Regions from separate parts of the Homo sapiens genome. Here regions 1 and 2 are each linked to region 3. The links are contacts of gene promoters, found by promoter capture Hi-C in blood cells and fetal thymus (Javierre and others, 2016). All regions are on one chromosome and are shown on one strand. The core of a region is centred on a gene start or on the middle of the fragment in contact, and the rest is flanking DNA. Distances in the headings are between cores, read along the strand shown.

The links. Contacts are between HindIII fragments. The CHiCAGO score rates a contact against its expected background, and 5 or more counts as called.
Region 1: a contact is called between a fragment that was not itself captured here and the fragment with the promoter of ATP6V1B2 in region 3, in 1 of 17 cell types (monocytes). The highest score is 5.9, in monocytes.
Region 2: a contact is called between a fragment that was not itself captured here and the fragment with the promoter of ATP6V1B2 in region 3, in 2 of 17 cell types (M1 macrophages and monocytes). The highest score is 6.8, in M1 macrophages.

Annotation. Positions count from the first base shown.
Region 1 is chr8:19,873,205-19,876,292 of GRCh38, reverse strand. No RefSeq gene overlaps it. Among named protein-coding and RNA genes, the nearest start is that of INTS10, 57 kb to the right of the region's middle. The HindIII fragment of the contact is 380 bases long and covers 1,225-1,604 here.
Region 2 is chr8:19,840,520-19,843,555 of GRCh38, reverse strand. INTS10 (integrator complex subunit 10) reads right to left here. Exons shown (of 17, transcript NM_018142.4): 14 at 629-708. Among named protein-coding and RNA genes, the nearest start is that of INTS10, 25 kb to the right of the region's middle. The HindIII fragment of the contact is 1,905 bases long and covers 626-2,530 here.
Region 3 is chr8:20,195,795-20,198,637 of GRCh38, reverse strand. ATP6V1B2 (ATPase H+ transporting V1 subunit B2) reads right to left here and starts at 1,257. Exons shown (of 14, transcript NM_001693.4): 1 at 1,096-1,257. The coding sequence starts at 1,231. RefSeq lists a silencer at 1,204-1,483. The HindIII fragment of the contact is 6,568 bases long and covers 1-2,843 here.

The DNA of each region.
Region 1 (3,088 bases), core at 165-2,664, 320 kb after region 3:
CATCCAGAATTATCCATCGAAAGCCGTGAGATGACAGCATCTACCTGCTGGCTCCACCCAGCTCAGACCCCCACCCCTACTTAGGTTAGGGGGACTTAATTACCGGCACTCAAAAGCTATCCTTGCAGCACAGTGTGGAAGTATCCAGAGTGGAGCAGGGGAAAAATGCAGAAAGATTTTTTTTTTCTAGCTGAAGGCTGGACATACAAAATCAGTCTGAGTTTGCACAGAATGTTCTAGAAAGCTGTAGTTGAAAATAGAATTAGGTGAAAGTCTAATGAATAGACTGGTTAAAATAAAATAGCAATAAAAATAAATAAGAAATAAAAATTCTAAAGAGTCAGGTCTGAGCCTCAGAGAGGAGAGGGGTCTCACTGAAAGGAGGCAAGTATGTGGACGTCAGGGTCAGAGTGGCCACTCCAGCCCCGAGATGACAGTGCAGCCTCTCTCCACTGCCCCTGGAGCTTCAGCCTTGTAGGAAACACTGTGTTAAACCAATGAACTCAAGGTGGGAATGCAAATTAGTTCAGCCACTGTGGAAAGCAATTTGGCAATTTCTCAAAGAATGTGAAACAGAATTACCATTTGACCCAGCAAGCAATCCCATTACTGGCTGTATACCCAAAGGAATGTAAATCGTTCTACCATAAACACACAGGCATGCATATGTTCATTGCAGCACTATTCACAATGGCAAAGACATGGAATCAACCTAGATGCCCATCAATGGCGGACTGGATTAAGGCAATGTAGTACTTATACACCATGGAATAATACACAGCCATAAAAAAAGAATGAGGTCATGTTTTTTGCAGCAACATGGATGGAGCTGGGGGCAATTATCCTAAGCAAACTAACACCGGAACAAAAAAACAAATACCACATGTTCTCACTTATAAGTGGGAGCTAAACATTCAGTACATATGGACACAAATAAGAGAACAACAGACACCGGGGCCTACGTGAGGGTGAAAGGTGGGAGATGGTGAGGATTGAAAAGCTACCTATCAGGCACTATGCTTATTACCTGGGTGGCGAAATAAGCTGTACACCCAAAATGTTCCACCCACCTTTTGGGCCACATTATTCTATGTATTATACCAAACTAGAATACAAGGCTGTTTCTACCCTCTAAGTTCATTTCACACTTAAACATATAGTGCTTTCAACTAGAAATAGATTTCAGGGTTATGGTGTACTAGCAAACCAAAATCATACAAAGCTTAGCATTGTTCACAAAGAATTAAATACCAGGATAGCTGGGGAAAGGTGATATTGGGCTGATTACCTGTATTTTCAAGTTTGCGAACTCTCCACAATTCATTTTGAGTAATCTAGAAACTTGTTAGCTTTTCCTCACTTGTGGCATATCTCTCTGGCTTCTGAAGTTGGAAGGGAATAGGAAAAGAATGGACAAAACAATCTGATCCCCAAATTTCTTGCTGACAAGTCTAGCTTCTTGTTCCAGGTCAGTCATCCTAATCTACACCTATTTTTAAAGCAGTAAGTCTGTTACTTCTCTTAATACTAAGCATTTAGACATCTTATCTTGAGTAATTGAACTTACATAGCAACTAAGACTTAATAAAGTCTCTGATAAAGCTTTATCTTTGTACCCTAAAGTGAGGTTGGTAAGCTTTTCTGAGCATCTTATCTTAAATTTGATTTCAATTTCAGTTTCAGCAATTTAGACTTGGTTTTTTAGGTGCTCCAATTACTCTTAAAATAATCTATTCACCATGCTGGGCTAGCATTCTCATTATATTTGAGCTTCATTCTAAGTACCTGGATTTATAACAAAGGAAAACAAGAAAGTGATAGTTCACTTCACAAAAGGTTGAACAAAGACAGCTTAAAATAGAGTTCCATTAAAATGACTTCAAACATTCTGCAACAAAGAACTTCCTGCAATACATCTAAAGGAGTATATTTTATTAATTCAAAGGCATACTTTTTTTAAATGTTTTGGCAACTATGAAATTGGGATGTATCTTACATTGCTGTTGGCCAGAGAGCATTTGTAATGTACAGATCTTTGCCTGTGTATGCACAAACATAAAAAATGCCAGCATCAAAACTTGTGGAGTGACTAAGTCTGACACAGCCTGATTTCTCCCTCTTTCACCACTGCCCTCCCCTTTTGAGAGCTCGCTCCAGATATAGGGGCCTGACTGAGGGTCTAGGTTTGGTTGTGCATCTTTGTACCATCAATTCAGTATGCTTGGAATGCATCTTCCTCCAATATCATTATAATCATCATTCTTATTCCAGTTGTGAAACCTGAAAATTTGAGACCGGTCTCAGTTAATTTAGAAAGTTTCTCTTGCCAAGGCTGAGGACACACACACACCCATGACGCAGCCTCAGGAAGTCCTGACAACATGTACCCAAGGTGATCGGGGCACAGTTTGGTTTCACACATTTTAGCAAGACATGAAACATCAGTCAATATAAGTAAGAAGTACGTTGGTTCCATCCAGAAAGGCGGGGACAACTTGAAGCAGGGAAGGGACTTCCAGATCACCGGTAGGTTGCATTCTTTGAGTTTCTGAGAAGCCTTTCCAGATCAGCATATGCATCTGTCTCAGTGAGCAGAGTGACTTTGAATAGAAATGGGGGGCAGACTTGCCTTGAGCAGTTCCCAGCTTGAATTTTCCTGTTAGCTTAGTGATTTTGGGGGCCCAAGATATTCTCCTCTCACACAATCTCAGCCTAAAATGTCTACTTAAACACATAAAGTAGCTGTCCAGTCTAGTCATTACATATCTGTACTCACTCACCACTATCTGAAATTTTTCTTGCTAGTTACTGATTGATTGACTGACTGACTGAATGATAGATTGATTGATTATCTCCCCTTCCCAGAATGCAAGCTCCTGCTGAGTTATTCTGCCTGCCTGTATCACTGCTGTATCCCTAACACCGAGAGCAATGCCTTGCACATGTGGTGCTTCACAAGCACGTGTGGAAAGTAAGAATATATGTCAACTTTATTTTAGTCCACATAATACATAATACGGGTGTTACCAAGACCAGTTTTTTTTTTTTTAATACTTAATTTTATTGAGTCAAAGGGAAAAAAAGGAGA
Region 2 (3,036 bases), core at 329-2,828, 360 kb after region 3:
AAATCACACTTTAAATTGTTTTTGTTGCCCTAAAAAAGTGATATGGATGATGAGTTAAGTGGGAGTTACTGCACTGAAGTGGAGACCCAATGTTTTACTCTCTGGCCAACAAACCTTCCAGAAACAATGAAGCCTCCCTGCTCTAAGGCTCTGCTCTACCTGTAGCCAAGGGCCTTGGCGTTCTTTCAAGTCCCGGAACTTTCCCAACTGTTGGGCTGTTACTGGTGTTGATCTCAACACCTAACATGCTTAATCTAGCACATCTTTACAATGACAAACTCATCATCCCTCCATGAACCTAACCGCAATTTGTATTCCCTTTCTTTGTAGCTAATATATTTATATTGATAAAATATTTACCAAACACTACAACAGTCAAGGTTATTTGCATATCTGTCCCACTATTACACTTTTTGAGGACGGGGAGAACTTCCTACTTCTCTTTGCCTAGCGCAGTCATTATTTAATATAGATTTGTTAATTAGTAGCCCATGTGCTTTTCTAACTGTTTGGGCCTGCCCTCAAAAGTACTAAAATAACAATCCTTAGCAAGGTTCTCAAGTTCTCGAGTCATGAGAATAATATTTGAAATTACATTTTTTTTCAAGCTAATCAACTTTAAGCTTACCTTAAAACAGGCTAACATTAAATGGAGGCAGTATGGCATGATAGCCTTGCTGGTACAAGGCAGGAGCTTCAGATCCGAACCTAACAGAAGTCCACAATGTTAGGTTAATGTATGTTATTATCAAAGATAACAGCTTTGAAAGGCAACTGTTTAAGATGCTTTCATTAACAACAACAAAAAAGAGAATATGCAACAGTCACACAATTTCAATTATATTTGAAACACAATTATACTTTGTGATGGTGAAATTGGCTTTTGATGGTCTCTAGATTTCATTTATCAATATTCTTTCCTAAACTTGCTTAAATACTTTTTATGAGAAAACATTTCAAATATACACAAAGTTATATAGAGAGAATATAACACTGGTGTGCTCACCACTCAGCTTCATGAAATGTTAATATCTTAATTTTAAACATTTCTAATATCAATAATCACAAAATCAGTTAAAGCCTATTGTGTATCCTTCTCTGATCCCATTCTCTTCCATCGCAGAGGTCGCCATAATTCTGAAGGCAGTGGTTGTCATTCCTATGACTGTTACACACGTAAACAACAATGGATTGTTCTGCATGCTTTCAGTCTACTATATAAATGGTGTCATTTTGTATGTATCCTTCTGCAAATTGCTTTTTTTACTCAACTTCATGTGGTTCAGATTTATCAACTGGTCAATATCAATACACATAGCTCTAGTTCATTCATTTTCAGTGTTATATAGTATTCTGTTGTCTGCATTCCTTTTACAGAGGATATTGACATTTCCAATTTTTCACTATTACAATGATAAATATACATTCTTACATATTCTTGTACATTTGTGGAAATAACTTTAAGCAATAGCTTTCAAAGCAAAATCCCAATCTTTCCTTTCTGGTCTGTGTTCTTTATGTCTGTTATCTTTCTCTACTCAGAGGCAAGATAGCAAGAAATAAATATTTTTCACATGGGATCCTGTACACACATACTTACATAATGTGATAGATCCAAAACAAAAGGTGCATGGAATAACAGTCTCTCTTCTTGTCTGAGATGTCGTCTTAAAATATTATTGAATTCTATCTCATTAAAAAAGAAAATTTCTGGTTGAAACTCATGACCCTGTAAATGAAAACTCACAGCTTGAAAAACACTCATCTAAGGTATACAACTAGGACGCGAGGTACATTTAATAATTAGGTAATGACATGTTCAACTTGGTCATGGGAAGTTGGTTTCCAGAATGGTTGCATGACTTTATACACCTTCCAGAAGCACGTGGCACTGTGTTCCTTCACATCCTCTTCAATTTTTGCATTCTGATGTGTGTGAAATGGTAGTTTATTGTTTTATTCTGAATTGCCCATATGACAAAAGGTTGAGAATCTTTCCAAATAGTTTTTGGCCATTTGGATTTCTGCTCCTGTGAATCTGTTCTTCCTGTCCTTTGCCTATTTTTCTATGGGGATTGGATAATTGCTTCCTATTGGTCTGAAGGAGCTCTTTCAAAACTCTAGATACTAAGTTTTTGTTGATTTTGTGTGATAGACAATTTTCTGGCAGCCTATGCCTTATCTTTTCACTTTGATTGTAACAGCCTTTGTTGGTATTTTAATTTTAATGTGATCAAATTTACTAATCTTTCTATTTTTAAATTTTCTTCTAAAAGTTTGGAAGTTTTGGAGTTTTTGCTGTCACATTTCAACCTTAAAATTTAAAGGATGTCTATGTAGTGTGAAGGAGGGGATCTCATTTTTTTATTGTCGTTTTTTACATTTGGATAATAAATTGTTCTAGTACCACTTATTGAATAAATTCATTCTTCCCCCACTGAATTTTAATGTCATCTATTTCTCAGTTTTCTATGCTGTTCCACTGGTCAACCCCTGTGCCAATACTACCCTGTCTTAAATTACTAAAGCTTTAAAATAAGTCTTGAAGTCAGCTAGGTCAGTCCTATCCACCTAATCAGTTTCTGGAAGGTATATAAAGTCATGCAGCCACTCTGGAAACTAACTTAGCATTACCAAGTTGAACATGTCATTACCTAATTATATGCCTTGCCTCCTAGTTGTACACCTTAGATTAGTGTTTCTCAAGCTGTGAGTCTTCATCTACAGGGTCATGAGTTTCAACCAGAAACTTTCTGTTCTGCAGAAATACTTAATTTTTGAAGAAGTCTGGGCTAGATTTTTTTTTTTGACCATTTGTTATAGAAAACTTCAAACATATACAACGTAATCTGCTCCAGCACCATTGGTTGAAAAGTCTTTCCTTTCCTTATTGAATTACTTTGATGCCTTCATCGAAAATCATTTGATCAAATCTATGCAGGTCTATTTCTGGATTCTCCATTCTTATGTCGATATTTTGTCAACTCTGTCTTGATTATTATGCTTGTATATTAAGTCTTGTTATTATGTAGTATA
Region 3 (2,843 bases), core at 8-2,507:
TCTGGCAATTAACCAGTGAAAATGCAGTCTCACCACCTGGGGAAACATCATGTGCTTTTCCCAGTTTTTTAAAAAGTCTATTTCGAGGGCTCATTGCCAGTTCCGAAGAAAGCTGTGAAGAAGTTGGATGCTACACAACTGCATTCTCTAGTAATCAAGAACCATTTCTTTTGGAATTGCTGAGCTATCCACTTAAACCTAGTTCATTAAGGCCTTTTTATTTAAAAAATCACAACATTTAAACAAGCCTATGCACACACACCACCTATGGGCAAAGCCACCTGGCTTCCCCAAAGAACCCTGCACTCAACCAAGTTTGGTTAACTGGTCAGTAAATGAAGAGGCAACGGTAGAAAAAGGCCCAGCGAGAATTTAAGAACCTGGATTTTTAGTCCCTGCTCTGCCAATAATTAAGTGTCTGAAGCATGGCAAATCCTACCCCTTCCAGAACCTTAGGCTTCTCACCTGTAAAATGATAGGGTTGGACTGGATGACCTGCAAGGTACTTTTCAGCTCTAGCGTTCTCTGATATCTAGGTGTCCTTCTGCGGAGCAGCCCCTCCACCAAACACCAAGCCACATCTCCCTCTGGCTACTGGCCTGACCTCCATCCACGAAAGGCCTGACCACGTCAGCGAAGGCTCTACCGTCTGCCCTCCGCAGGAGTTGAAGACCCCATTGAGGTCCTCACCAGGGGGAGGGGAGAAGGGGCGTTCCCTCGACCCCTAGATATCCAAATGAAGTCAGGGGAAGATTAAGATCGGAGTGGCAAGAAGTGGCCCTCGGGGACGGGAAGCAAGTGCCTAAGAAGGCTCCAGCCTAGGGAAGCTGGGGAGGGGAGGGGGTAGGGCAACAGCCAGGAGCCCACCAACCCCAGGAAAAAGTTCCCGCTGGTGCTCTTGCCCTCAGCCCATCTCCTGGAAATATTAGGTACAGGCAAATCTCCTTCTAAAGAGACAAGTGGGTCAGGGTCGGAGGGGAGACGCGGGAGGGAAAAACAAATCCTACCCCCTACCCGCTGGCTAAGCAGGTGACTGGGAGCAAAGGGCTAGGCTAGGGAGCAAAGACCGGAGACGTATTACTCTCTGATACTCACTGAGGCGAGGCTGGGAGAGGTAGTTCCGACTGACTGCCAGCGCCTGCTCCCGAGCTCCCACCGCCGGCCCACCGGTGGGCACGGGTAGCTCGGGTGCGGCCCCGTTGACAATCCCCCGCATCGCCCGCAGCGCCATCTTGTCTCCTCTGTCCCGACTGGCCCAGCAGCGACGCCGCGCACGCGCAGATATACCAAGGCGGCCCGCGGCCCGAGGCTCCGCCTATGCGCGCTGCGGCGCCCCGGCCTCGCCCCGCCCCCTTCGCCGCCGGCCGCCCCCAGCCTCGTGACTTCGCGCCGCTGGGGCCAGACCTGCTTGCGAGCAAGAGGAGCTGACCAGCGTGCTGGGAGGCGCGCGCGGGCGCAGAGGGAAGGGAAGCGAAAGAGGGGAGATGGAAGGAGAGAGGAAAGCCAGCCGAAAGAGAGGCGCACAAGCGGAGTGAGGGGAGGAAGGCAAACGCGTGCAGGCCAACGTCAGCTGATATCCATTTCGAATGGGCTTTCGTGACGCTGAATGGAGAGAACTCAAGCTGTGAAAACCGCTTTGAAAAACAGAAGCAATGGAAAACATGTTTCAGTGATTATTAACACATGTGGCATCATTTAGTTCACTTTACTCCCTACCCAATTCGTTCACGCATGTATCCATTCGACAAACATATATTGGCTTGTTATAGGATGTGCGTAGCGGTGTGAAAAATAGGGGCAGATTTGGAAGCTGTGTAAGGGGTGGGACTAGTGTAGGATGACAGCCCAGGCTGGAGGCCGGAGCAATGGAATGGATTCTTCTTCTTCTTCTTCTTCTTCTTTTGAGAGGGAGTCTCATTCTGTCGCCCAGACTGGAGTGCAGTGGCGTAATCACGGCTTACTGCAACTTCCGCCTCCCGGGTTCAAGCGATTCTCCTGCTTCAGCCTCCTAAGTAGCTGGGATTACAGGTGCCCACCGCCACGCCCGGCTAATTTTTGTTTTTAGTAGAGACGAGGTTCTACCATGTTGGCCAGGCTGGTCGCGAACTCCTGACATCAATTGATCCCGCCGTCTTGGCATCCCAAAATGTTGGGATTACAGGCGTTAGCCACTGCACCCAGAAGATTATAATTTTTAAGTTTAACTAATGTCCAAAGTTGGCACGTGTAAAATTAAACAGGAATTGTAATACTTTACTGATAAGAGCACAATTGGTATGATATTTAGAAGAACAATTTGGTGATATCTCATTCAAATATTTTGGTACTAGGAACTTATCGTTCTCTCTCTCTGTAGATATATCTGTATCTATCTATCCACTCAGTGTATGTGACAAATATTTTCCATTATATATAATACATTACGTCATGCACCATATGGTATATATTATTATATATGGTCTACAGACATATACATGTATATATACATACACACAGATATTCAAAAAAAATTTTTGTAATAGCATAAACCTAGAAACAATCTAAATGCCCATTCATAAGTTATAGCCTATTAAGTCAAAGGTATTTCTCAAACTTTTGAAAAGAATTCAGTGGAGGCTCAAGGGTTGAGTTTTTTTTTTTAAAAAAAGTCCAAGACACATTATTAGGTTTAAAATAAAAAAGCAATTGCAAAATGCCATGTAAAGTAGATTAACATGTGAACAGTAGGAGAAATTTTATTTTTAATTTAATAATCTTTCTATGTAGTTTCACTGCTTTAACAGGTGTTTGTACTGATTTTTTCAAATACAATGCATAACAACTTTTTTAATAAAAATTACAAA